Linked DNA regions of Homo sapiens: regions 1, 2, 3, 5, 6 and 7 are each linked to region 4. Evidence: promoter capture Hi-C in 16 types of primary human blood cells and fetal thymus (Javierre and others, 2016). All regions are on one chromosome and are shown on one strand. The core of a region is centred on a gene start or on the middle of the fragment in contact, and the rest is flanking DNA. Distances in the headings are between cores, read along the strand shown. Region 1 overlaps PCAT29 (prostate cancer associated transcript 29). Region 2 overlaps LINC02204 (long intergenic non-protein coding RNA 2204). Region 3 overlaps PCAT29 (prostate cancer associated transcript 29). Region 4 holds the start of TLE3 (TLE family member 3, transcriptional corepressor). Region 5 overlaps PCAT29 (prostate cancer associated transcript 29). Region 6 overlaps PCAT29 (prostate cancer associated transcript 29). Region 7 has its middle 36 kb from the start of LINC02205.

The links. Contacts are between HindIII fragments. The CHiCAGO score rates a contact against its expected background, and 5 or more counts as called.
Region 1: a fragment that was not itself captured here is called in contact with the fragment with the promoter of TLE3 in region 4 in 2 of 17 cell types (neutrophils and M2 macrophages); the score reaches 7.0 in neutrophils.
Region 2: a fragment that was not itself captured here is called in contact with the fragment with the promoter of TLE3 in region 4 in 1 of 17 cell types (fetal thymus); the score reaches 5.1 in fetal thymus.
Region 3: a fragment that was not itself captured here is called in contact with the fragment with the promoter of TLE3 in region 4 in 2 of 17 cell types (total CD8 T cells and activated CD4 T cells); the score reaches 5.2 in total CD8 T cells.
Region 5: a contact is called between a fragment that was not itself captured here and the fragment with the promoter of TLE3 in region 4, in 6 of 17 cell types (non-activated CD4 T cells, total B cells, total CD8 T cells and 3 more). The highest score is 7.1, in non-activated CD4 T cells.
Region 6: a contact is called between a fragment that was not itself captured here and the fragment with the promoter of TLE3 in region 4, in 2 of 17 cell types (total CD8 T cells and neutrophils). The highest score is 6.0, in total CD8 T cells.
Region 7: a contact is called between a fragment that was not itself captured here and the fragment with the promoter of TLE3 in region 4, in 4 of 17 cell types (fetal thymus, non-activated CD4 T cells, total CD4 T cells and 1 more). The highest score is 12.5, in fetal thymus.

The regions. Positions count from the first base shown.
Region 1 is chr15:69,608,925-69,612,143 of GRCh38, reverse strand. All of the region lies in intron 1 of PCAT29 (prostate cancer associated transcript 29), which reads right to left. Among named protein-coding and RNA genes, the nearest start is that of PCAT29, 18 kb to the right of the region's middle. The HindIII fragment of the contact is 8,868 bases long and covers 1-3,219 here.
Region 2 is chr15:70,577,134-70,580,378 of GRCh38, reverse strand. All of the region lies in intron 1 of LINC02204 (long intergenic non-protein coding RNA 2204), which reads left to right. Among named protein-coding and RNA genes, the nearest start is that of LINC02204, 7.8 kb to the left of the region's middle. RefSeq lists an enhancer at 142-945. The HindIII fragment of the contact is 1,418 bases long and covers 914-2,331 here.
Region 3 is chr15:69,651,902-69,655,300 of GRCh38, reverse strand. All of the region lies in intron 1 of PCAT29 (prostate cancer associated transcript 29), which reads right to left. Among named protein-coding and RNA genes, the nearest start is that of PCAT29, 61 kb to the right of the region's middle. The HindIII fragment of the contact is 339 bases long and covers 1,495-1,833 here.
Region 4 is chr15:70,096,161-70,099,586 of GRCh38, reverse strand. TLE3 (TLE family member 3, transcriptional corepressor) reads left to right here and starts at 1,670. Exons shown (of 20, transcript NM_001105192.3): 1 at 1,670-2,812; 2 at 3,326-3,426. The coding sequence starts at 2,789. RefSeq lists enhancers at 1-350, 438-1,412 and silencers at 343-492, 563-642, 2,232-2,401, 2,412-2,531, 3,252-3,426. The HindIII fragment of the contact is 8,963 bases long and covers 1-3,426 here.
Region 5 is chr15:69,673,978-69,677,227 of GRCh38, reverse strand. The region is part of intron 2 of PCAT29 (prostate cancer associated transcript 29); the gene reads right to left. Among named protein-coding and RNA genes, the nearest start is that of PCAT29, 83 kb to the right of the region's middle. The HindIII fragment of the contact is 3,243 bases long and covers 1-3,216 here.
Region 6 is chr15:69,632,442-69,636,070 of GRCh38, reverse strand. The region is part of intron 1 of PCAT29 (prostate cancer associated transcript 29); the gene reads right to left. Among named protein-coding and RNA genes, the nearest start is that of PCAT29, 42 kb to the right of the region's middle. The HindIII fragment of the contact is 1,661 bases long and covers 828-2,488 here.
Region 7 is chr15:70,539,852-70,543,200 of GRCh38, reverse strand. No RefSeq gene overlaps it. Among named protein-coding and RNA genes, the nearest start is that of LINC02205, 36 kb to the right of the region's middle. The HindIII fragment of the contact is 1,222 bases long and covers 1,283-2,504 here.

The DNA of each region.
Region 1 (3,219 bases), core at 640-3,139, 490 kb after region 4:
AAAACTGGGTGATGGGGGCGGGAAATAATCTATCAAACATTAAAAGGCTGTCTGGAGGAATCACTTAAATGACCTGCGGAAAAAAATCTTTGGAAAGTAGCATATATACAGGTTCTTCTGCAGGCTATGAGCCTGCAGTGAAGGGGCACTGGCCCAGGTTCAGGATGCTGCCTTAGGTCTTTGTTGCTCAAAGTGTGGCCCACAGACCAGCAGCATCGGTATCACCTGGGAACTCATCAGAAATTGAGGCTATTGGGCCTTAGCCCAGACTTCTGATTCAGAATCTGCATTTTGACAAGATTCAAGTGTACACATTCAGTTGGAAAAGCACTGCCATAGGCCTCTCAGTCTGGCTTTCCAGGTCTCAAACTCCAGGGCATTTAAATAAGAAGGTTAGCTTCATTCACTTCTCAATTATTCTTATTTCAAAAATAGAATTGAAAAGGCTCTTGAAGACATCCAATCCAGGAATGGTGAATACCCGCAAGGGTGCAGCCATCCTTCCCAGAGACTAGAGCAGACATTGCTAATCAATCAGGAAACTCTTCCATGGTGCTCAAAAGCAGCTGCACCATCCCCTCCACAATGCAGTCCAGAAAGCCTGATGGCTCTTCCATAATTACCATGGGTATGAAACCTATTTACCACCCCTGACCCCCGCTATGTGGCCTAATCCCTTCTTTATTCATAGGTCGACCTTATCTCCAGTTTAAGCCCATTTTCCCAACATGCTATCCAATTTAACATTCACCCCTTCAAAAGTGTTCAACAAATTATATGGTTACACTGCTTAAACAGAAACTGAGTGTTTCCAAAATTAAATGACGTCCCCAAAGATGGAGAATCCTATTCCTCTGGCTCAACTCTCATCTTCATGTCACCTCTCTGTTCCACCACCCACTTCAACATTTTAGACCAAGGGAGGGAAGACTTTAAACCTCACAAAGAAGTTTAGAACATTACCCTGGTGCTCCTGAAATCCAAGGTAGAAAGACAACGGAAGTTTTTTAAAATGCTCTGAGACCTCGAACCACACTCCCATGTCCCCTGGCCACCCAGCCTTGTCACCTGCTTGGAGCTGGAGCTGGCATCTTCATGACCAGGAAACGGTGGCATGCTGAACCTGCCTCCCCCAGGCTCTTCATTCAGTGTCCCAGCCGCCTGCCTCAAATGCTACAGGCAAAGCACTCTGAAATAGGGTGATATTCTCAATTTAATTTTTGTTCACATGTAATAGGAGATCGATACCCTCACTAAGCTGCTGTGCCCATCAGCCAGTAGGAAGCAGCCTATGTTTTTGGAAGGCAAATCGTTAAGAACTAGAATACAGTATAGGCATGTACACCGGCTGCATCCAATTTCAAGTGAAAATTAATGGCAAATTCTTGTAACCACATTAAGAGCCATTGTCGTTCATTTGAAATCAGTTAAACATGAAAACAATATGAAAACCTTCTTGAGTTCATGGAACATAAATATTTGTCTGTATTTTTTGCCAGTGCCCCAGAGAGACCAGGAGATGCTGGCAGATCAGTGTTCTAAAAACATGCTCATGAAGGGGGAAAAATAAGGAACCTGACTCTTGTTGGGTTGAACTACTTGTCAACTTTTCCATTTCCTCAGTCAAAAGATAATTAAACAGTAAGCAGATGTCAGAATCTAATTGATGCAAGGAAAGATTGCTCAATGTCTTATGGTGCTTTGTCATTGTTATGTACTGTCTGCAAATAGCCCCTTGGCTGGTACAAGTAGCAGAAAGTCAACCAGTTAGCTTCTCTTCCCATGGAGGCAGAGGCTCTCCCAACAAACATACCTGTGTTCAGTCACTCTGGGTGTCAAGAAGCACATAAGAAAGTTTCTGGGACAATGTCTTAGGCATATTAGAACAGAGAGAAGCTGTGGCTTTTCAGAAGAGTGGGGAGAGGGGAAAAGGAGAAAGAGAGAGATAGAGAGGATGGGGGAGATGGAGGTGAAGAAGGGAAAGGTTGAGAGATGAGAGAGAAAAAGAATAGGAAAAGACTCAGAAAAAGGAACGGTTGGCAGAGGGAGAGAGTCCCAATATGGTAAAATCAAAACGGCATGGTCTTCAGAGTCAAGCCTACTGCTTGGTCATCCCTTTCCAGCTGTGGGAACTTAGACCATGTATTTGACTTCCCTGAGTGCATTCTTTCCACTGACCATTGGATATCATATTCCCTGCCCGGGCCTTCCCACGGCTTGATCTGAGATGTAAGGAGTCATAAGTATCAGAGTCTGAACATTGCAAAAAACTGCACAACTGCTTCAATTTTTAAAAAAAAGAGTAGAAGGAAATCGGGTGAAAGAGAATTAAAACAAAGTTGGGTGCCAGGACAGTGGCTCACATCTGTAATCCCAACACTTTGGGAGACTGAGGTGGGCAGATCACCTGAGGTCAGGAGTTGGAGACCAGCCTGGCCAACATGGTGAAACCCTGTCTCTACTAAAATTAGCCGGGAGTGGTCATGGGCGCCTGTAATCCCAGCTACTCAGGAGGCTGAGGCAGGAGAACCACTTGAACCCGGGAGGTAGAGGTTGCAGTGAGCCGAGATTGCGCCACTGCACTCCAGCCCAAGCAACAGAGTGAGACTCCATCTCAAAAAGTAATAATAATAATAAATACAGTGGGGTGTGGGAGAGCTGTCTCTCTGTTATGCTCCCTTATGGGGAACCCACAGCAGTGCTGCTTGGAGTTCAGTGTGACTCAGAGATGAGTGAAAGAGCTCTTTCAGATTCTACTGTAGATTCCTCCCCTTAAAACACACACACACACTCTCTCTCTCTCTCTCTCTCTCTCTCTCTGCTCTCCGTGGGAGAGCATTCAAATGGTGTCCAGGAACCGAGGTGGACAACAGACTTGAAAAACAACTGCCAGCTGGGCACAGTGGCTCACGCCTGTAATCTCAGCACTTTGGGAGGCTGAGGCGGGTGGATCACCTGAGGTCAGAAGTTTGAGACCAGCCCTAGCAACACAGTGAGACCTCGTCTCTACAAAAAAAAAAAAAAAAAAATTTAAAGATATTAGCAAGGTATGGTGGTACGTGCCTGTAGTCCCAGCCGCTTGAGAGGTTAAAATGGGAGGATTGCTTGAGCCTGGGAGGTCAAGGCTGCAGTGAGCTGTGATTGCACCACTGCATTCCAGCCTAGGAAATAGAGTGAGATGCTGTCTCAAAAAAAAAAAAAAAGAAAAAAAAGAAAACA
Region 2 (3,245 bases), core at 373-2,872, 480 kb before region 4:
CCCTTGGCATTGCTTGCACGGACTTTGCAGAAGGAGCCTCTGCAGGAGCCCTGGACAACTTCTTTTTCCTTTTCAGAAAGCTAGAAAATGACTGAAGCCCAAACTCCCGCCCTTGTGCTGTCCAGGACCCCCAAGCCCAGCTTCGCCTTGGCACCCCACCCTCATCCTCTCTTCCCCCAACCCCAGCCCTTCACCCTAATCAGGGGCACAGGATCTGCTGCCACTGAGCCCTGATGCCTCCTCCTCTTGCATTTGTCCCAGCCTGCCTCTTGTCCGGGGTGTCTTCTCTTTCCCTTTAGTCCAAATGAAATCTGTTTGTTTTCCTGCCCAAGCCCACTCCCACTTCTTCAGTGCGATTCAGCCCCCACCCATGTCCCCAGTCCTGGGATTTCTGCTTTAGACATGGCAGTGCCACAACTTAGCACCTCATTGTTCTCCAGCGGTTTCAGCTATTGTGATTCTGTTTCTTGAACTAGATTACAAATTCCTTGAGGGTCAGGACAATGAGGAATGGCTCTTTCCCCTCCATCCTTCTTTCCTTCTCTTCCTCCTTCCCTTCCTTCCAATTATCAAGTAGAAATTGATGTCCTCCAACTGGATTGGCCACCACCAAGGTCCTAGTGGGGTCCCCAGGTTGGCAGAGTTAATTGTTTGGTGTTTTTGATCTCCAATTGGCCTGAGCTTGTTCTTTTCCTTCTTTCCTGGATTCCTGTGACTTCCAGGGCCCCCTTTTCCGGCCTCCCAAATTAACTCTATTCTTAGTGCCTTGTTTCATATGGAGGAACCAGTGACTCAGAATAGCTCCATAGGTGACTTCTCCCCGGGGAAATTTTTGACCAAGCCCCAAAGAGTAGAAATGATCAAATTCTAATGAACTTGCCTTGCCTAAGGGCAGGGCCGGGTCTTTAAAGCTTCCCCCTTGAGTTGCAAGGAGACCGCTCTGAGCCATGCCCAGCCACTAGAGATGCCCGTGCAGTGAGCTCCGTCCTTGAGGTCACAGAATTAGATCAAATTCTAATGAATTTGATGTGTGAATTTTATACCTGAGCTAGATACTGTACTGTCCAATTTAGTAGCCACTCATCATGTGTGGCTTTTTACAGTTAAATAAAATAAATGTAGTCTTTCAGGACTACATTTACGGGAGCCACATTTTAAATGCTCAATAGCTGCCAGAAACGAATTTTTTAAAAAGCAGGTGTGGGCTGGGCCTGGTGGCTCATGCCTGCAATCCTAGCACTTTGGGAGGCTGAGGCGGTGGCTTGCCTAAGATCAGGAGTTCAAGACCAGCCTGGCCAACATGGTGAAACTCTGTCTCTACTAAAAAAAAAAAAAAAAAAAAAAAGAAAAAATGGGTGTGCCGGTGGATGCCTGTCATCCTAGCTACCTGGGAGGCTGAGGGACGAGAATCGCTTGAACTTGGGAGGCAGAGGTTGCAGCGAGCTGAGATAGCGCCACTGCACTCCAGCCTGGGCAACAGAGCAAGACTCTGTCTCAAGAAATAAAAAGGTGTGGAGCATATCAGGAACTTCTCAGTCCTAGATCACTCCAGCTAAGGGGTTTCTTGCCTTGCCTAAGGGCAGGGCCGTGTCTTTAAGGCCACCCCCTTGAGTTGCAAGGAGACCCCTCTGAGCCATGTCTAGTCACTAGAGATGCCCATGCAGTGAGCTTGGGCCTTGAGGTCACAGACGCAGTGGTTAATAAGGCTCCTGGTAATCTCCCAGCCCTGAGATCCTGCCTTCTAGTTCTGAGAGCAGCCGGGGGCCAGATACACCTACTCCACAAGGACGGAACCACGTAGAGCTTCCCCCGATAGCCTCTAGAATGGAAGGCCTATTCTGCAGTGGCCTGGGTGCCAACTTCCTAATGGCCTGAGTACCAGAGTGGTAACCAGCATCCGGTGGCAGTTACTGTCAACTGTTCAGCAGAAAGCTGAAGAGCCAGTGGGGCAGCAGAGAGTGTGGGAAGGAGAGGAGGAGGGAGAGAGTGCCAGGGAGCAGGGCAGGATGTCTTTCGGGGGCTGAGACCCAGGGCAGAAGGCTCGGCAGGACCATGGAGGCGCCACGTGCTGACCTTCCCACGAAGAGAAATATCTCAGTTACTCCTATAGTGGAGTGTCTGGGGGATGAGGCTCTTTCTTCAGAGGGGGTCCTGGCAAACCTGGGTGTGCTCACGGTTAGACACCAGGATGCCCAGGGCACTTGATGGGAGGGGTAATGAAGCCTGGAATGTTCAGCCTGCGATGAGATGGCTCAGAGGCTATGGGTGGAGGACGGGGCAGAGCTTTTCAAAATTTGAAGGGTGGTCATTTAAAGCAAGGGCAGGCAAGCTTTTTCTATAAAGGGGCAGACATTTTAGACTTTGTGGGCCTCATGGTTTCTGTCACGACCACTCAACTGAGTTGCGGCATGGAAGCAGCCACAGACAATGTGGGAGCCAATGGGTTAGACGTGTGCCAATAAAACACCGTTTACAGAGATAGGTGGCAGGCCTGCTCAGCCCTACTCTGAGCTAGACCCTTGCTCCTCACAATGTGGTCCTCGGACCAACAGCATCAGCATCACTTGGGGGCATGTGAGAAATGCAAAATCTCAGGCCCAGCCGGGTGTGGTGGCTCACACCTGTAGTCCCAGCACTTTGGGATGCTGAGGCGGGCGGATCATCTGAGGTCAGGAGTTTGAAACTAGCCTGGCCAACATGGTGAAACCCCATCTCTACTTAAAAAAAAAAAAAACCCAGCATGGTGGTGGGCGCCTGTAGTCCCAGCTACTTGGGAAGCTGAGGCAGGAGAATCGCTTGAACCCTGGAGGCAGAGGTTGCAGTGAGCTGAGATTGTGCCACTGCACTCCAGCCCAGGTGACAGAGTGAGACTCTATCTCAAAAAAAAAAAAGAGAAAAGAAACTTCGTCTCAACATAGAGATGAATTTTCCACTTTAAATCCTCAGTCTTGCAAAAGGAGGCTGCCTCTATGGGTAGTGAGCACCCGTTACTGTGATGTGCAAGCAAAGGCTACACACTCAGTTGTTCAGCACATTAGGGAGGACCTGGACAGGATGAATAGCATCGTGGCTAAGGGCTCTCCCTGGGAGGCAAGCTGCCTGAGTTTGAATCCTGATTGGGCAAGAGGATATGTCACTGATCTCTATTGCAGATTCCTTATCTGTCCAATGGGGTAATCAAAGACCTCATAGGGTTGTCCTGAGAATTAATTTGCTCAAAATACTAGAAGAGCACTTACCACACA
Region 3 (3,399 bases), core at 415-2,914, 440 kb after region 4:
AATATATATTACAACGTGGGCTAATACAATTGCTAGGATGGAGCACTTCATTTTGTCTGAGCTTTCTGGTAACCAGGCTATGAAGAGAAATGTTTGAGTCTGGATCTTTAATAAAAGAAAAAATATTGCAGATGGATGGTGGTGATGGCTGCACAGCAATATGAATGCATTTAATGTTGCTGAACTGTACACTTAAAAATAGTTTAAAAAAAAAATAAGTTTTAGGCCAGGCACATGGCTCACGCCTGTAATCCTAGCACTTTGGGAGGCAGAGGCAGGTGAATCACCTGAAGTCAGGAGTTTGAGACCAACCTGGCCAACATGGTGAAACCCCATCTCTACTAAAAATACAAAAATTAGCCGAGAGTGGCAGGCACCTGTAATCCCAGCTACTTGGGAGGTTGAGGCAGGAGAATCCCTTGAACCCGGGAGGCGGAGGTCGCAGTGAGCCGAGATCGTGCCATTGCACTCCAGCTTGGCAACAGAGCGAGACTCCGTCTCAAAAAAAATAAAATAAAATAAATAAGTTTTATGCTATGCATATTTTACCACAATAAAAAATTGACATGTACAAAGAAAAAGAAAAATATATATTACAATGTGGGCTAATACAATTGCTAGAATGGAGCACTTCATTTTGTCTGAGCTTTCTGGTAATCAAGCTATGAAGGGAAATGTTTGAGTCTGGATGTTTACTAAAAGGAAAAATATTGCTGTTTCCAGAGATCTCAGTGTCCAGCCTACCCCCAACCCTGGCCAGGACTCAATTATAGCAGGCATTTGCCTTAGTGATCCTTATACAAGAGGCATTGGATAGCATGCAGGACAATGCAAAAATCAACAGTAGTCTCACAGAATGCAAAGGCACATTCATGACAACCATTTGTGGTGGTGGTTCTGGAAGAAATGTGAGAGAAAATCAGTGAAACCTAACTTGAGAGCCTTTCTGGCGGGAAGGAAGTTAATGAGGGCTCGAGATGAAGATTTCCAGGAAGGAATTTGGAATTCCCAAAACACATATTCACTTAGTGGTGCCTGTAGGGTTTCCCAAGAGAGGTGTCCTACAGATTGGGTTAAAGATGAGGATCCAGATGTCATCAGTACAGAGATGGTCACTGTAGCCAGAGGTGAGAATGCACTGTCCAGGGAGAGTGCAGAGCCCCAGGGGGGCTGCTTCATAGACACCCCCATTTCCCAGGGCCCACTCAAGGACTGCAGAGCAGGCAGTAGCTGGGTATTTTTAGTGGCCATGCAGGAGTGAGAACTCACATCCTCTGACTCGCTGTCAAGTGTACTGGCCATTGTCCTGGGCACTTCTCTGTTCAGGAGAAAGAACACGATGCTGGTCATCAGGAGGCCTGGTGGGAATCTCATGGACACCACCTCTAGCTTTGTGGCTTTGGATAAGTTATACAGTCTCTTGCAAACTCAGGTTCTTCATCTATGGATGGTAATAACAATTTAACAGTTCCTTCCCTGCTCTCCTTACAAGCTTATTGGGAGCAGAAGGGTGGCTTGAGAGGACTTTAGTCTGTGCTCACCTCCTGTCTCCCTTACAATTTCAAACATATATCAGTCCAAGTGCAAACACTGGGCTCACTGTATAAGAGCTGCTCCAGAAAGTCCCCAGCCTCCTTTCCTATTCACTGACCTCAGATCCACTAGTGGATATTCTCAACCTGCCCCTTGTTGGGAGATCAACTATCATGAGCCCTGTGATAGCAGAATGCCACCTTCAAACTGCTGACACACATGGGCGATTGTCATTCTGTGTCTCAGAGTCTGTTCCAGCTCTCAGGGCAGCAGGGATGCCTTTTGCCAAGCCAGGAAGCTTGGGAGAATGTTGTCTACAGTTCAAACATGCTGCATTTGATGAACCTATGGGCATTTCAGTTGAAGAGACCTGGGTGGTGGTTTCACATAGAGGCCTGAAATCCCCAGTAGGTCTAGGAAAGAGAAATTTGATAAGCATCAATATAGAGGTGGAAGTGGAAGTCATCAGTGGGACCCTTTCCAAAGAAGTTTGGAACTAAAAGTGCAAATGACTTTAATAATGAGATAGCTATTGGGCATCAAGAAGGAGCTGGGGGAAAATTCAGACTTAGAGTTTTCTATGAAAGCTAGAATTGGCACCACACCCAGTCACCCAAGCCTGGCCTGGGTTGCACCCTCACCACGCGTGGCTCAGGGTGCTTGGCATAGGAGAGTCTGCAGAGAGCAGCCTTGCATTAGGTTGGAGTGACTTGCTGGCCAGACTCTTTCAGACACATTGTCTCTTAAAACCTCAGCCTGGATGGCTATGCTCAGCAATCATGTGTTTAAAAAGCAATAAGACTAAATGCTTTCCCGTTTCCCCTTTGAGAGACCATGTATGATAAATGATAGGCAATTTCATGGTTGGAGTTTCAATTTCCGAAAATATTAGTGCTATTCCCCAAGCTCCACTTCAGAGATAAATTCTTTTTGGCAGCCTCCTCCGTTGTCTCCTAATTCCCTGATTCTGAATATATTTGGAGGTTTGGTGCAAATTTCATCAGCTCAGTCCCAGCATCTACCTGTCTGGTCTGCTTTGGAAAGGGTGTCACCCACCTTCTACTCTTTCAGGTTCTTTTTATATTTGTTACAAGTCCATGGTTATTTATTAGGTACCTCCTATGTGCTCCCACCTCCATGCTAAGTATTATGGTGGATGTAGGGAGCTATAATCAATCATTCAATCAACAAACATTTGTCATGCATCCAGACCCTTCAAGCTCAAAACCACAATTCTACAGAGCCTCTCTAATACTTCCTGCTTGCTTCACACTGTCTCCATTTCACAATGGGGAGAACTGATTTCAGAGCTAACCTAGTAACATCAGGGTGGACTAGAGTGATCAGTGGCAAGGTAGGAGAGGGTGAACATTGCGTGGACACCTACAATAGGTCAGGTGCTGGACTGAGTGCTTGCCAACCCTCTGCACAGGAGTCTAAGCTATTTATCTTCACAAAACTCAAGGTAGGTGTTATTATGACCATTTTACGGATGTGGGAACTGAGGCTTAGAAAGGCTAAGCAGCCTCCCCAGGGATTCCCATTCCACTGGACAACACTGCCTCTTCTGATGTCCTGATGGCAGCAGGCTGGATGGTGTCCCAACAGTCATTTCCAAACCATGCAAGTGTCCTTCTTTGAAAACATCAAAGCACCAGTCAACCACAGAAAGAGAAAAACCTACCTTTGCACCTTGATCTCCCATTACTTTGTACTCTCTGCCTGCCCCAGCCCCAGGCTCCTGCTTAAGTTTCCCATGCTAAAGTCCTCAGAGCATCACCCACACTCCAGGGCCCATTCCCTGCTTCCTCTCATGCCATTGCCTTCTCTTCCTAACCAAGCACGCCCCATCATAGGTCAGTGAAG
Region 4 (3,426 bases), core at 421-2,920:
CAGAGAAGGGGGAGGGGGAAAGGAAGCGCCAAAGAGGAGCCATTTTGTTTCTAATGAATGCTGCGGCCAGATGCTCGCATCTGTCGAGCCGGGCTTCTCCCTCCCCCGTCTTCGGTGCGCGCCGAAACACGATTTATGTTTTTATTTAGGAGAATAAATAAATGAAGAGGGGAGCGCGGTTCGGGGCTGGCGGCCGGAGCGGGCGCGGGGAGGTTCAGTTCTGAGGCGGGTGCTCACGTGTAACTCCCCGCGCTCCGGCCTCCGAGCGCCCGCTAGCTCTCAGCTCCTCATTAAGATGCAAAAGCGAACCTCCGGCTCCTAATGAGGGGAAAATATAGATCCGGGGACGCGCGGCCGGCTCGCGCGCGGGCTCGCGGACTTGCCGGGGAGGGCCCCGGGGGTCCCGCCTTGGCCGTCCACCGGGCGGTGCGCGCTTTGAGGTCCACTCCCTGCTTGCTCGTCTGCCCCGCCGTAACCCCGAGCGCGGGAGGGCGAGGCCATCGGTTTGCGGGCAAGCTGGCCCCGGAGTCGAGTGGCCTGTGCGACCAAGCGGGGGGTCCGGGGGGCCCGGGGCCGGGGCGAGCGAGCGGGGGAGCGTCCGCGTCCCTCGGAGTGTCCAGGCTAGCGACCGAGACACCTACAGGCTTCCGCCAACGCCGTGGCACTGCCGGGAGCAGGCTGAGCAAACCAGGTGGGAACTCGGAGTTCCCGGGCCTCGGCCGAGCAGGGTCCCGACCCCATCCCCAACCCCCTCAGCCTGGGGATGCAGTGAGGAGCCCGCGCGGCGAGGCTGCGTCGAGGGTGAAGTTGTGCCCACGGGGAAGGCGCCCCGAATGGGGCCAGCCGTGGCTGAGCCTGTTGTCCACGGGCAGCCGGGCCCTTCCATCTGCGCTGCCCGCCTAGCCAGAGTCCCTCAGACTTCTCCTCGCAGGCAGCCGCCGCACATCAAAGGAGCTGTTTATTTGGCTTTCTGAAAAGAAGGGCGAGTGAACAAAGGAGAGCTGGGGGCTAATGTGGGGGAGGCGGGCAGAAGAAGGGGTGAAGAAAAGGGGACATCCTGAGTTCCGAGCAAATTTTTAAAGGTCGGAGGCAACTTTAGGAGCCACCGTTTTATCAGTCCTAAATCTTTTGAAGTGAAAACATTAAAGTGACAAAGTGATTGTTTGTTTTATAGTATCTAATTGGGCTGCTTTGCAGACCTAATGAGATTAGAGGGAGGAATCGTTCGCCGCCGCTGCAGAATAAACTGATACATTACTACCAGCCACAGGTTTTGAAGATTGTACAGCTTGTCTTATTTTCTTTTGTTGTTATTCCTCTGTCTTCCCTCTTTCCTCCTCCCGCTAAATAATTATTTGCTAGTAGACCGTGGGAAAAAAAAGGAGGAAAAAAACTCGAGCAGCCCAGGACTATAATATATATCTATTTATTATATGTCTTTCGGTTAATTCCTGATCTGAGGAGCGCTGTTTTTCACTCCCATGCGAAAGTCACCAGCGGGTAGGGCCTGATTGCTACTTTTCATGCATAGTTTTAGACACAAGAGGGCATTGTGACGTCGCGCCCAGCGGCACCCAGTCGTAGGCCGAGTCCCGCAGCCCCACGTGGGGGCCCCGCGCTCCCATTGGCCAGCGCCGGACGAAGCTGCCACATTATTTTGTTACTTTTCAGTCCCTATTTGGAACTGCTCTCGCGGCAGTTCAGACCTCGTGCTCGTCCCCTTCGCCTGTCTGTGTGTGGTATCCGTAGGTCCGGGGCACTTTTTTTTTTGGTGTGTGTGTGTGTGCGTGCGCGCGTGTGTGTGTGTTGGGTGTGTGTGTTTTGGGGGTTTGCCGGGGCGCGGAGAGGAGAGCCGGGCCGAGGGGAAGGAAGGAAGCCGTAGAGCTCCCCGGTCTCGGGCTGCGTCTCCCCTCCAGCGCTCTCCTGCCTGTGCGCTCCGACGCGGCAGCGGCGGTGGCGCTGAGCGCTCCTCGGTGGGGACGCGGTGCTCAAGCTGGGAGCAGCGAGAACCCTTTGCGGAGGCTTCCCGTGCCCGCTGGACTTAGGATGCCAGGGCGTTTGATTTGCACCTACTGAGCCCGGAGTTCCTCCCCGGCCCTGGGAAGGGCTTGCAGCGGCGGCGGCGGCGGCGGCAGCGGCAGTAGCAGACGGAACAGCAGGCTCTCCTCTCCGAGGGGGGGCGTCGAAGCGCCCGCGCCGGGCTCCCGCCCTCACCCTCCGGCGCTCCTGCGGCCCCAAGCCACCACCTCGTAGCCCGCCTCCTTCCTCTTCTCGCCGCGAGCCCCAGGCCCGGACGCCTCTAGGATCGGACCCGCGCGCCCCGGATGCTTGGGGCTGCCCCGGCGCGCCCCCCTACAGGCGCGACCCGCTGAGTGACCCGGAGGGGGCCCGAGCTCGCCCCAGGAGGGGCCCCCGGCCTCGGGACCCCGCGCCGGACCTGCTGGGGAGCCGACGATGTCCGCGCAGTCCCAGGCATTGACGCGCTCGACGCAGCCCAGGGAAGGCGGCCGGCCGCTGCCCGCCGAGCCCTAGGCGCACAAAGCCCGCGCCCGCCGCCCGGCCCCGGCGCCCGCCGACGACTTTGCCGCCTGCTCCGCGGCTCTTTGTCTCCACTTGGGGCGGGCGCCCGACTCTGGGATTTCGCTGCGAGAACGAGCTGGGGGGGCCGGGGGCGAGCTCTCGGTTTCCCGGCCGCCCCCCGCTCGGGCTCGGCTCCCCCCTCCCCCGCACCTCCCCGGCCCGGGCTCTCGGCGCTTCCACGCTCTCGGAATCACGACCCCTCCCTGCCATGTATCCGCAGGGCAGACATCCGGTGAGTAATTGCAACTCGGTTTATTTAAGCATCTATCATGGCAGGGTAAACGAGGCAGTTTATCTGGCACCTCCATTTTGCTTGTTGCTACCTTTATGGTGTGTGTGTTTGTGTGTGTGCTCTCACACAAAGGGGGATGCGGCCGGGGGGCGCCGTTGAGAGAGGAGGTTAATTCCGCGCGAGTGGCGCGGGGGGCTGCTTGTGTTCCAGGGGGAGCTGTTCACGCGGTCCCCGGCCCCGCTCTGAAGTCTCCCAACTCACCCGGCTTGTCTCCCGCCCCCGCCTTACTGGGGAGAGGGAGGCCCTTGGTGAAAGGCATGGGAGCCCCGCTGCCGACGGGGAGAGATGGGGCGCCCCCCCTCCGCCCCGTCGGAGAGCTGAGAAACTTGCTGGGAAGGTTCTGGGCTGAGGGTGGCCTCTTTTGGTTGGGCGCCGTTGGGGAGGGGCCGGGGCCGCTCTGAGCGCGGTCTCATGCCCCCGCCCCCTCCCCTGTCTTGTCTTCGCGGGCTCCAGGCTCCCCATCAACCCGGGCAGCCGGGATTTAAATTCACGGTGGCTGAGTCTTGTGACAGGATCAAAGACGAATTCCAGTTCCTGCAAGCTCAGTATCACAG
Region 5 (3,250 bases), core at 346-2,845, 420 kb after region 4:
TTATTTCTCAGGACTGTTTAAAAAGAGAGCTTACAGCAGGGTTTCTAGGCAATGGCACTCTTGACATTCTAGACTGGATAATTGTTTGTTGTAGGGGGTTGTCCTGGTCATTGTAGGATGTTTACCAGCATCCCTGGCTTCTACCCACTAGATATCTGTAGCACTCCCCAAGTTATGACAACCAAAAACATCTTCCGATTGCCAAATACCCACTGGGAGGAAGGGGACAAAATTGTTCCCAGTTGAAAACCACTAGTCTACAGAAGTTCCAGCCCATTGCTGCTCCTGGCTAATTATTTATTTATATTACATGAATCTACTGAGTACTTGCTAAGTGTCTACCCCTTCATCAACAAACACATGCTGGGCACCTACTTCAGACACTGGCTGAAGGCAAGAGGTGCCAAGATCACATAGGTGTGGTCCCTGCCCTCCAAGCACTCACAAACAGTGCAAGCCAGCAGACATGTTAAAATATAAGTTCGGCACAATACAATACGTTCATGGCTCTGTGAGCAAATTGCCATGCGAGCTCAAGACAGAAGCCTTTGGCAGGGAAAACTACACAAAGAAGTTAAGAACACTGGAAAGTAATGATGCTTCATGTTTATACCATACGTTGTGATTTGCAAAGCACTTTCACATATGTTATCTGCCTTGATCCTGAAACAACCTTGAGAGGTGGTTGTTGCTCTCCCCATTTTGCAGATAAGAAAAGCGAGGTTCAAAAGGATTCAGCCACTCCCTAGGTCGCACAACAATTGAGTGGCAGAAGTGGGACTATTTCTGCCACTAGTTGGGTGCCCCAACTCCAAAATTGTTTTCTCCTATTCCCCTGCAGAACTTAGGAAGGCTGCGGGGAGCTGAAGGGCCATTGATGCCACAGCAGGAAGATCATACTTCCCACACCCATGTACCCAAGGCGAAGGTGCCTGGCCTCAAGCAAGATTAGGACTGTTAGATCAGGAACACGGAATGTGAGGAGAAGAGAAACAGTCAACTCTTTTCATTTCAAAATAGAACTTTGGTACTCATAGCAGAGACAAGTTCTTGAAAGATAAGGCTTTTGATTTGCAAAAACTGTTTTTTTTTTTTTTCCAGTTCTAAAAGCCTAGTTTTAGCATCATCAGAAGCAAAGCTCTGAAGGAATTGGGGCATAAAGTCTAGATTAGAAAAAGGAGAGCTGGAGAACCAGACTGCCATGCTGCCGAGATTAGACATGGATAACTAAGAGGGGTGGGGTGGGCGGAGGCAGAGGTGAGAGCAGCAGAAGGAGCTACTGATATGTGAGGCAGGGACAAGGAGTCACATGCTTCACTCCTCCTGTGGTCCAATCTCAGTGGGAGAGGAAGTAAGTATCAGACCCAGAAATCTCTGGCCAGTTTGGGAAACAAGAAGGGAGGGGCCTTGGGATGATAGCAAACCTTAGAGAGAGATCCCTGTCCAGTGGAGGAGCCCAGACATATGGACACAGAGAGTGCCACTCCCTCACTCAGCCTGGTGCAGAGAGAATAGATGGGCTTCTCCATGCCCACAAGGAGTGGGGCAGAGGGGTCACCTGAAAGGCAGAGCCTCGCAGGGGACTCACAACAACAGGAGAGGATGTCCTGTGAGATCAGATGAGGACACTGTCATGTCCCAGCTGATGCCAGCAAGGAGGGGAACAACTGTCTGAACAACACACTGGATGGCAGATATCAGCAGATGTTGACAAGTGAGTCTCACTGGAATGAGATGGAGAACAACACAGTCCAGCAAATATCCAGAGACTCACTCTGATTGGAACAGGGCATGTCACAGGTCCAAGCCCACTGAACCAATCACTGTGGTCAGAGAAGTGAGTGTTTCAATTGGAGGGAGTCTCTTCTTGCTCCATGTATCTTCTTTCTCAGTTTCTCCCCCCCAAAGTCAACCACTGTTTATGGTTTCTTGTGTATCTTTTCAGAATGAGAAGTTCTCCATTTACACAAACTCATCTATGTGTATGTGGTCCCTCACTTTCTTTACTCAGTGTCAGCCTACCATACACACCCCATTACACTTAGATTTTTGACCTAACACATCCTAGAGACTTTATATCTGCTCTTCTGAAAGCTGCCAATGACCTCCCTGTCATCAAATACTCTCTACTACTCCACAGCTGAGTAGGGGAGCCAGGTGGTGCCAGGAGAATCCACTTCTCCTGACTCATGGTCCTGTGTTCTGTCCCATGCCCATGCCTGCCCAGCACCCCCGGCCACCATCCTGTATGAGCCAATCATGTCCATCTAAGGCACAATCTGGAAGCCAACACGAAACCACGTCCCCCCAACCCCCATCACAGCACCTGAGCCCAGTAACCTGAATATAAGCCTTCCTGGAAAAAGGGACCTAGCCTACACCCTCACCACTCAAAGTGGGGTCCAAGGACCAGCATCAGCAGCAGCATTGCCTGGGCACTTTTAGAAATGCAACATCTTAGGCCCTTTGCAGAATCTTGGTCTTTATTTAAACAAGATCCCCAGGGGGATTCTTGGGCATATTTAAGTTTGAGAAATGCTGGTCTACCTACCTTCTTCTGAGCACTTGGACTTTTCCAGTCCAAGAGGTTTCCAGTTCACAGGCTGTTCTTGCACTTTGCTGCTGATATAAATACTCTCATCGCTGCTGTATTGGGTTTACATTTAAGGATTCCCAAAATAAACCTGGCCCTTGTGTACACAAAGATGCTAGTGGCTCTCCAGGTTGCAAGGAGGTGAGTTAGGGAAACCCTGATCCTTTTTTGCCATCAATGGCCAGAAAAGGTTTGCAGGGGCCTCTTAGATATTCCTGCTTCTGTGCTTCCCTTACCTCCTGGCACGTGATGCCTGCTTGCCTTTCCCCCTGAAATACTGTGTTTATAAACAAAGCCACATGTGAACCCATAAAGGGAAGTCTAAGTGGGATCCCTGCGCTACAGGGCCCAGCATCTCCTACGGAGGCAGCTGATTCTCACGAAGCGACGAAGGAGCCATCCAGAATGGTCAACCGTCTCTCCTGGGGCATTCTGGATGAAAAGCCACCCTCCTGGAGTACAGGAGAAAAGCCTCCCAGCTTTTACTGTGGTTCTTGGTTCCTATCCTCCAGCGCAATTTAATTTTTTAAATAGATGTCAGTCCCTATTTTTCTGATAAATGGCTGAGTTTTTAACACGTGGACATGTTATAGAAAAGCGCAGGTATGGGTCATGCGAAAGCTTGGTGAAAAAAAGAAAGAAAATAGGAAAGCTTTT
Region 6 (3,629 bases), core at 409-2,908, 460 kb after region 4:
ACTCCTCTACTAAAAAGCTGTGTGACCTTGGCGTAAATTTTCCTCCCTTCCTGAGGCCATTGTTTTATATGCAAATGAGGATAATGATACTACCCTCCTTGGATTAAGTGAGCTCCAAATAATATAATCCATGTAAAACATGTAGCACAGGATGAGGCTCAGGCTCCCAGGACCATGACTTTTGATTTGTTCAGCATGCACACAGTGAGAGACGCAAACCCCAGCCTCCACCAGGCTGTCCAAGGAAGACAAAGATGATGCAGGAGGTCTCTCTCCTCCTGCATCACCTTTACCTTCACCTCTCTCCTTCCCTCCTTAATGGGTCCAAGGCCAGTCAAGGAGGTCCTGAGGACACTATCTCAAGTCAGCCACACAGCCTGTCTTGCAGGCAATCTATCCATCAGTCCATCTTTCCATTCATTCTTCATTCAGTCAATGAGTGCTGAGCATTCACCAAAAGCCATACCCGGCTCTGGGTACTGGCGACACATAAGTGGACAAAACAGAAGAAGACCCCTGCTGCCATGTGTGAGCATAATTACTCCATCCTTCCACTGGTCAATCCATCTGTCCATGGGCAGTAGCCCAGCCTGAGAGCCCTGCGAGGCCATCCCTGACCCAGACAAACTATGAGATGGCTGTGACTTTTAATTGTGAGGTTAAAAGAGAATCACATCCTGTTAGCTCTTGAAGGGAGCATAGCCATTTTCTCATCTGATCCCAAGGAGCTGGAGCCCATGGGCAGATGGTGAGTTGCCTAAAGTCATGCAAGAAGCATGAGATAATGTCAAGGCTGGAACTCAACATGGTCCCAGAACTTTAAAGCTTAACTTTAGATCCTAATGAACACCCCGTACAACACTTTCTCTTACAGGTCAAGGAGTCACACAGTTCCTGCCCTTAGGAAAAGCCAACTTCCTTGAATAGGGAAGACACAGATGCATGAAAGATTAGACCTACATCCTGTTCATATAAGCGGTCTCATTTCATTCTCACACAGCCCTGAGAGTCGAGCATTATGATCCCATTTCACAGGTGAGGAGACTGAGGGCATGAAGGTAAATAACAGATCATATTAACTCTGGCTCTCCCGACTACCTACAGAAGAGTAGAAAATTCAGATTCAGCACACATACATATGAACACACAAACACACACACACGCACACACAGAGCTTTGATTATTTTTTTTAAAAGTTTAACAATCCATTGCAAGCACATTCCCATGTTATTAAGTATTTTTTGAATATATGCCTTAAAAATGTTTTCTACAATATAAATATACTCTATTTTATCAATCCTCATTTGTTACATATATAACAATTATTTCCAATATTTAAGTCTGATAAATAATGCTCTCATGAACATCCTGATCTCATTGCCAGTGTTTTCTTAGTATGGGTTCCTAGAAGTAGGACCATGGAGTCCAAAAATATGAAAACTGTTTAAATTTTTCCAGACAGGTTGTGCCAATTTATGTTCCAATATCATCACCTAGTTGCTAACACATATCATCATCATCATCATCTCCAATCTTAATAACTGGACAAGTGAAAATGGGATTTTATTATTGTTCTATTTCTCATTTCTTTGGCTAATGGTAAAATTAAACATTTTCTCATACGTTAGCCATCTGTATGTCTTATTTTGTGAATGTTCTCTGCCAGTTTTTTTTGCTGGGATGTTAGTCCTTTTTTTCTTTAGACTTTGTTAGAACTCTTTGTATTCTTAAGGCTATTAGCCTTTCGCCATACCTGTTGCAAGCATTTTTCCCAATTTGTCATTTACCTTTTTATTTTTGTAGTTTCTTTTTTAAAAATATACATTTAGAGCTTTGTGTAGGCAATTCTACTGACAATTTCCTTCGTGATTTCTCCAATTGTTCTTAAGTTAAATATGTATTACCCACTTTAAGATCATTTAAATATTCACTTAAACTTTCATATTTTGCTATGAGGTTTTTAAATACTTAATGCTATAACTTGCTTGGAATTTGCCTGAGAAAAAGATTAAGATCTAAAAAGATTGGCTTCCAAGTAGTCAATTTTCTCAACAGCATTTGTTAATCCAACCCTTTCTCATGGATTTGCAATGCTTCTTTTTATTTCATTTTGCTTGTAAGTTTGGTTTCAGAGGTCAGTTATGTGCCACTGATGCTGACTTGTTCTTGAGCCAGTACCTTGCTGGACAGTTGCTGTAGCTTTAAAATATATTCTAATCTATGTTAAAGGAAATCCTGTCTTCGTGTTCTTTCAAAAATGTCTTAGCTGTTTTTAACTTGTCATTCTTCCAGATTCATTGTAAAGTTGTTCTGATGAATTATGAAAAGTTTCCATTGAGGTTTTGCTAGACTTATGTATTAATTCAGGAGAAACTAACATCTTTCGTTGTTCCTTTTCCCCAACCAAGAACCCGTCATATTTCTCCACTTATTCAGGTCTTCTCTTACACAAAACTCATAAAATTTTGTCACTTTCTTTATGAAAGCTTTACACATTTCTCACTGAGAATTGTTCAGAGGTAGATTATGTTTTTGTTTGCTTTTCTTTTCACACTAGTTATTGTGGGTCCATAAGAAAGTTATTGATTTTTGTGTATTTATCTTGTGTATCAGAGAGGAGAATATATTCACTAGCAATGTTCCCAGTGATAATTCACAAGAAAATTGGTCAAAGAGAGTCTGGGCGCAGTGGCTCATACCTGTAATTCCAGCACTTTGGGAAGCTGAGGCTGGTGGATCACCTGAGGTCAGGAGTTCGAGACCAGCCTGGCCAACATGTTGAAACCCCATATCTACAAAAAAACAAAAATTAGCCAGGCATGGTGGAGGGCACCTCTAATCCCAGCTACTTGGGAGGCTAAGGCAGGAGAATCGCTTGAACCCAGGGGGTGGAGGTTGCAGTGAGCCAAAATCGTTTCATTGCACTCCAGCCTGGGCAACAAGAGTGAAAGTCTGTCTTCAAAACAAAACAAAACAAAAAACAAAAAATTGGTCAAAGAGAGACAGAAAGAGAAAGAAAAGCTATGGTCCCCAAGGGTTCAGTCCTTTCCTCAGTGTGGGTGGGGAGACAATCAGAAGGTCACAAGGATGTCTGATCAGATTCAGGGCAGTGGGGTCCACCAGCGAAGGAGAAAATGTAGGTGGGAGGGGAGATGCCGGCAATGGAAGAACTACCTGAACAGAGAAGTGACTGCATACTAGCCTCTGCCCTGAGTGTGTAGTTTTGGAGAGAGAAACGAACATCTAGAGAGAATTTCTGGAAAATTTTCTATGTCGCGGGATATGTAAAACCTCTGGGCATGACAAGCCTTTTTAAGAAAGCCTGCCCTAAAAGTCCACGTGACCATTCCAGGTTTCTGGAGTCCAACTTAGATTTCCTTTTAGTATAACTCTGTGCTGAGACTAAACCATATGGGACCCTGAGATTTTTAGGGTTACCATTTATTCGGTCACGATACCAAGCTCTATTATACATTCTAAGGGTTTTTCTAGTGATTCATCTTGTTTTCTGCATATGTGATTATATAACCTAAAACCAATAATAGTTTTGTCTTATTTTCAGTAGTTAAGGTCCTTTTTTCCCCTGACTTCATGAAATTTTGCATTGGCTAGAATTTTCAGGAAAATGT
Region 7 (3,349 bases), core at 644-3,143, 440 kb before region 4:
CATTACCATCATGCTGTGTGCAGAAAAGATCTATCACAGCTGAAGGAGGCTGAGGGGTCTTTTCCCCTTGGTTACACTGAATATGTGTTCTGTGTCTGCGTTTTGACTATGACCCATAACATAAGGACAGGTATGGTGTTTTCCACTTGTGACATAATGTCAATGCTCAAAAAGTTTCAGATTTTGGAGCATTTCAGATTTTGGATTTTTGAATTAGAGATATTCAGCCGGTATTGCCATCTTAAAATATTAAGACTTCCAGTTCCTGAACACAAGATGTTTTGCCACCTATTTAGATCTTCTTTAATTTCTTTCAACGATGTTTTCTAGTTTTCAGTATACAAGTCTTGCACTTCTTTGGTTAAATTTATTTTAAGTATTTTATTCTTTTTGATGCTATTGCAAATGAAATTGCTTTCTTAATTTCATGTTATAGTTGTTATTGCTACATTTTTACATACATTTTGTGTACTGTTGTTGTGTCCTGCAACTTTACCAAGCTTGTTTATAGCTCTAATAGTTTATTTTTTGTAGATTCCTTAGGGTTTTCTATATATAATATCACACTATCTGTAAATAGAGATACTTTTACTTTTTCCTTTATGATCTGGATGCCTTTTATTTCTTTTGCTTGCCTAATATACTTGCCAGAATCTCCAGTGCAATGTCAAATAGGAGAGGAGAGAGCAGATGTGCCTGGAAATTTTTGACTGTGTACATTTTGGATTTTACTGTGTTGGGTGTTGGATTTTGCTGCATTCCTTTAATTATTGTTGGGCTTTGTTCTGGGATTGCAGTTAGGTTGCTTGAAATCAGTTTGATCCCTTTAAAACTTGTTTTTACACTTTGTTGACATGGGTTGACAGTCTTTGGTCTAGGGCTAATTTCACTCCACTATTAAGGCAATAGTTTTCTGAGGATTTTACCTGATGCCCTGTGTATACGGAGGTCTATTTCACTCTGGAAGCTGGGATTAAAAATTATTGCAGGCTCTGTGTGAGCTCTGGGGATTGTTTGACCTACTCCTTGCCCAGCCGTGGGCAGTTTCCTCACATGCATGTGAGGGTTAATGCTCAAAGATTGGAGTTGAAGTCTTCCTAATCTTATTCTAGCCTCAGGAAATAGAGAGATCTCAGCTATGCTTGTTACTTCTCTCCATTTTCTACAGGAGCTTGAACTAAAGTCAAGCTGATGTGAACATACTCTCCTGCCCTTCACTTCTTGGGTAAAGGTAATTGGGTGATTAGGGTAATCACCGGGTAATCAAGGATGTTTGCAAGCTTCTGCCCACAAAGAAAGCCAGGGTAGGGAGTAATGGAAATGGTGGGAGTGGTGGATGAGGCTGGTCTCAGACAATCAGGCATCTCCATCAGGCTTGAAGAGCAAGACAACCTTCCTCATTACCCCATACTTGGCAATGCTTCTCCTACTTACCTGCTGAGAACAAGAAAGAACCAGAGCAGGCCAGGACACACAGAAGGTTACAAATTCCTGGAATCCCTGGCTCCTGCCTGTGTTGCTACAACAGTGGGCTGCAGTTTCCTCATCTCTAAAATTCATAGAGCCAGACCAGAGGTACTCTAGACCTGGCCCCACTCTGGCAGTCTGGGGTTGTGAGTTTCCGAGCCCCTGGCCTCTACTCTCACTCTGAAACTGTAGGTGCAGGGCAGTGTCATTTGTCTCTAACCCAGTGAACATGCAGCTTAGCCCCAAGGAGCCCCTAAAGCCACATAAGAATGTCAGTAAGCAGCATGGTATTTCTGCTTGTCCTCATCACAGATGGAACATGAAAGAAACTAATGCTGATAGAAATGTCTGACTTTTTTTTAGAAAATTAACGGTTCTGGATAAATTATTGACTCTGTTTCAGGAGTGGTGAGGTGACAAGAAGGAGTGGCTCATTTGCATGATCTCCGGCTGCAATGGCAACCACACTCAAGTGGGAGTCCTGACTCTTCCACTGACTGCCTGTGTGACCCTGGGGAAGGTACTTAGCCTCTCTGAGTTGCTGGATTCTCATCTCTAAAACTGGATTTTAAAAAATCTGCTATCAACCTCACCTATGCTGGCTAGAAAAAGGCAGCATATTTCTCACCTATGCTGCAACCTCACCTATGCTGCAACCTCACCTATGCTGCAACCTCACCTATGCTGGCTAGAAAAAGGCAGCATGATTTTCAAACTTAGAAGAAATCTTATGTAGAATTTAAGCACACAGAAACATGCAGAAACTTATAGGTTAAAAAAAAAAAGAGGGAAAATACATTGATAAATAAATTGGGGTGAAGGAGCAGACCAAAGGTGGTCCTTGCAGTGAGAGATGATTGTACATAGCCCTGCTGGAATGTGGCAGGAGCTTGGCTGCAATGTGGCCAGGGGAGCCATTTCCACTGCTCCTGAGGGTGGGGCAGGATGAGCGAGAAGAGAGGCTGAGTAAGGGTGGAAGAGAAGAGCCCATGAAGGTTGGGGAGAAACACTCACCGTGTGTCAGGAACTAAGAAGCTTTTTAACTTGCTGGCAATAAGGTGTGGATGTGGTCTCTTTTCAGGACCTCAGTGTTTTCAGTAAGTTCAGCTGTTGGTGTGATGGACCAGGCAAGTATGTGTGATTATTTATTGGCTTATTTCTTTATTTATTATGTGGAAAAGGGGAGTTTCCATCGACTCAATGTGAGGTGGTGATGGCCCCCCTCAATGTGAAGTGGTGATGGCCCCAGGATCCCACAGCAGGGGAAGCTCTGGGAATTCCCAGAACCTGGGAGGAGCTGCTGGCTTCACCAAGCTGTGCAGCTGGGGGCTTGAGATGCCTCAGCTGGATGTCTTGAAAGGGTGTTGCTCCGCCTGGCCATGGGCAGATGGGGTTCGTGAGCTCCCCGGGACGTCGTCTGTCACTTTCTCCAGCAACTCCGGCTTCTTTGGAGTTGACAGCTGGCCTGGCCGTGGCAAACGCTCCCGTGCCTGAGGCCAAGTCCCTCTCATTGCCATCCCTGCTTGGATGGATTCCTATGGCTGCAGTGGGAGGGGGTGCAGGATGGCTAACGAGACCATGGAGAACTCCTGTCCTCTACATGGAGGGACAGGCCTCTCTCCACAGACTCCAGGGCCTGGGAGCGAGACCTGGAAGGCCAGAGGTCCCAGCTGGAGTGTGCAGGTGTGTGCATGTGCATGACCTGTATCTGCTGGGGAGTGAGTTGAGAATTACAGGTGTCCCTCTTTCAAGAAGTTCAGTTTCCTCATCCTCTCCTCTGAATCCCTCAGGGAGAGAGAAAATACCCGGCCTCCTTTCCTGGTGCTGGAATTCTCTCCCACTCAGGGCTTCCTAGATCTGGTCCCCAGATGCCTCTTGGAAT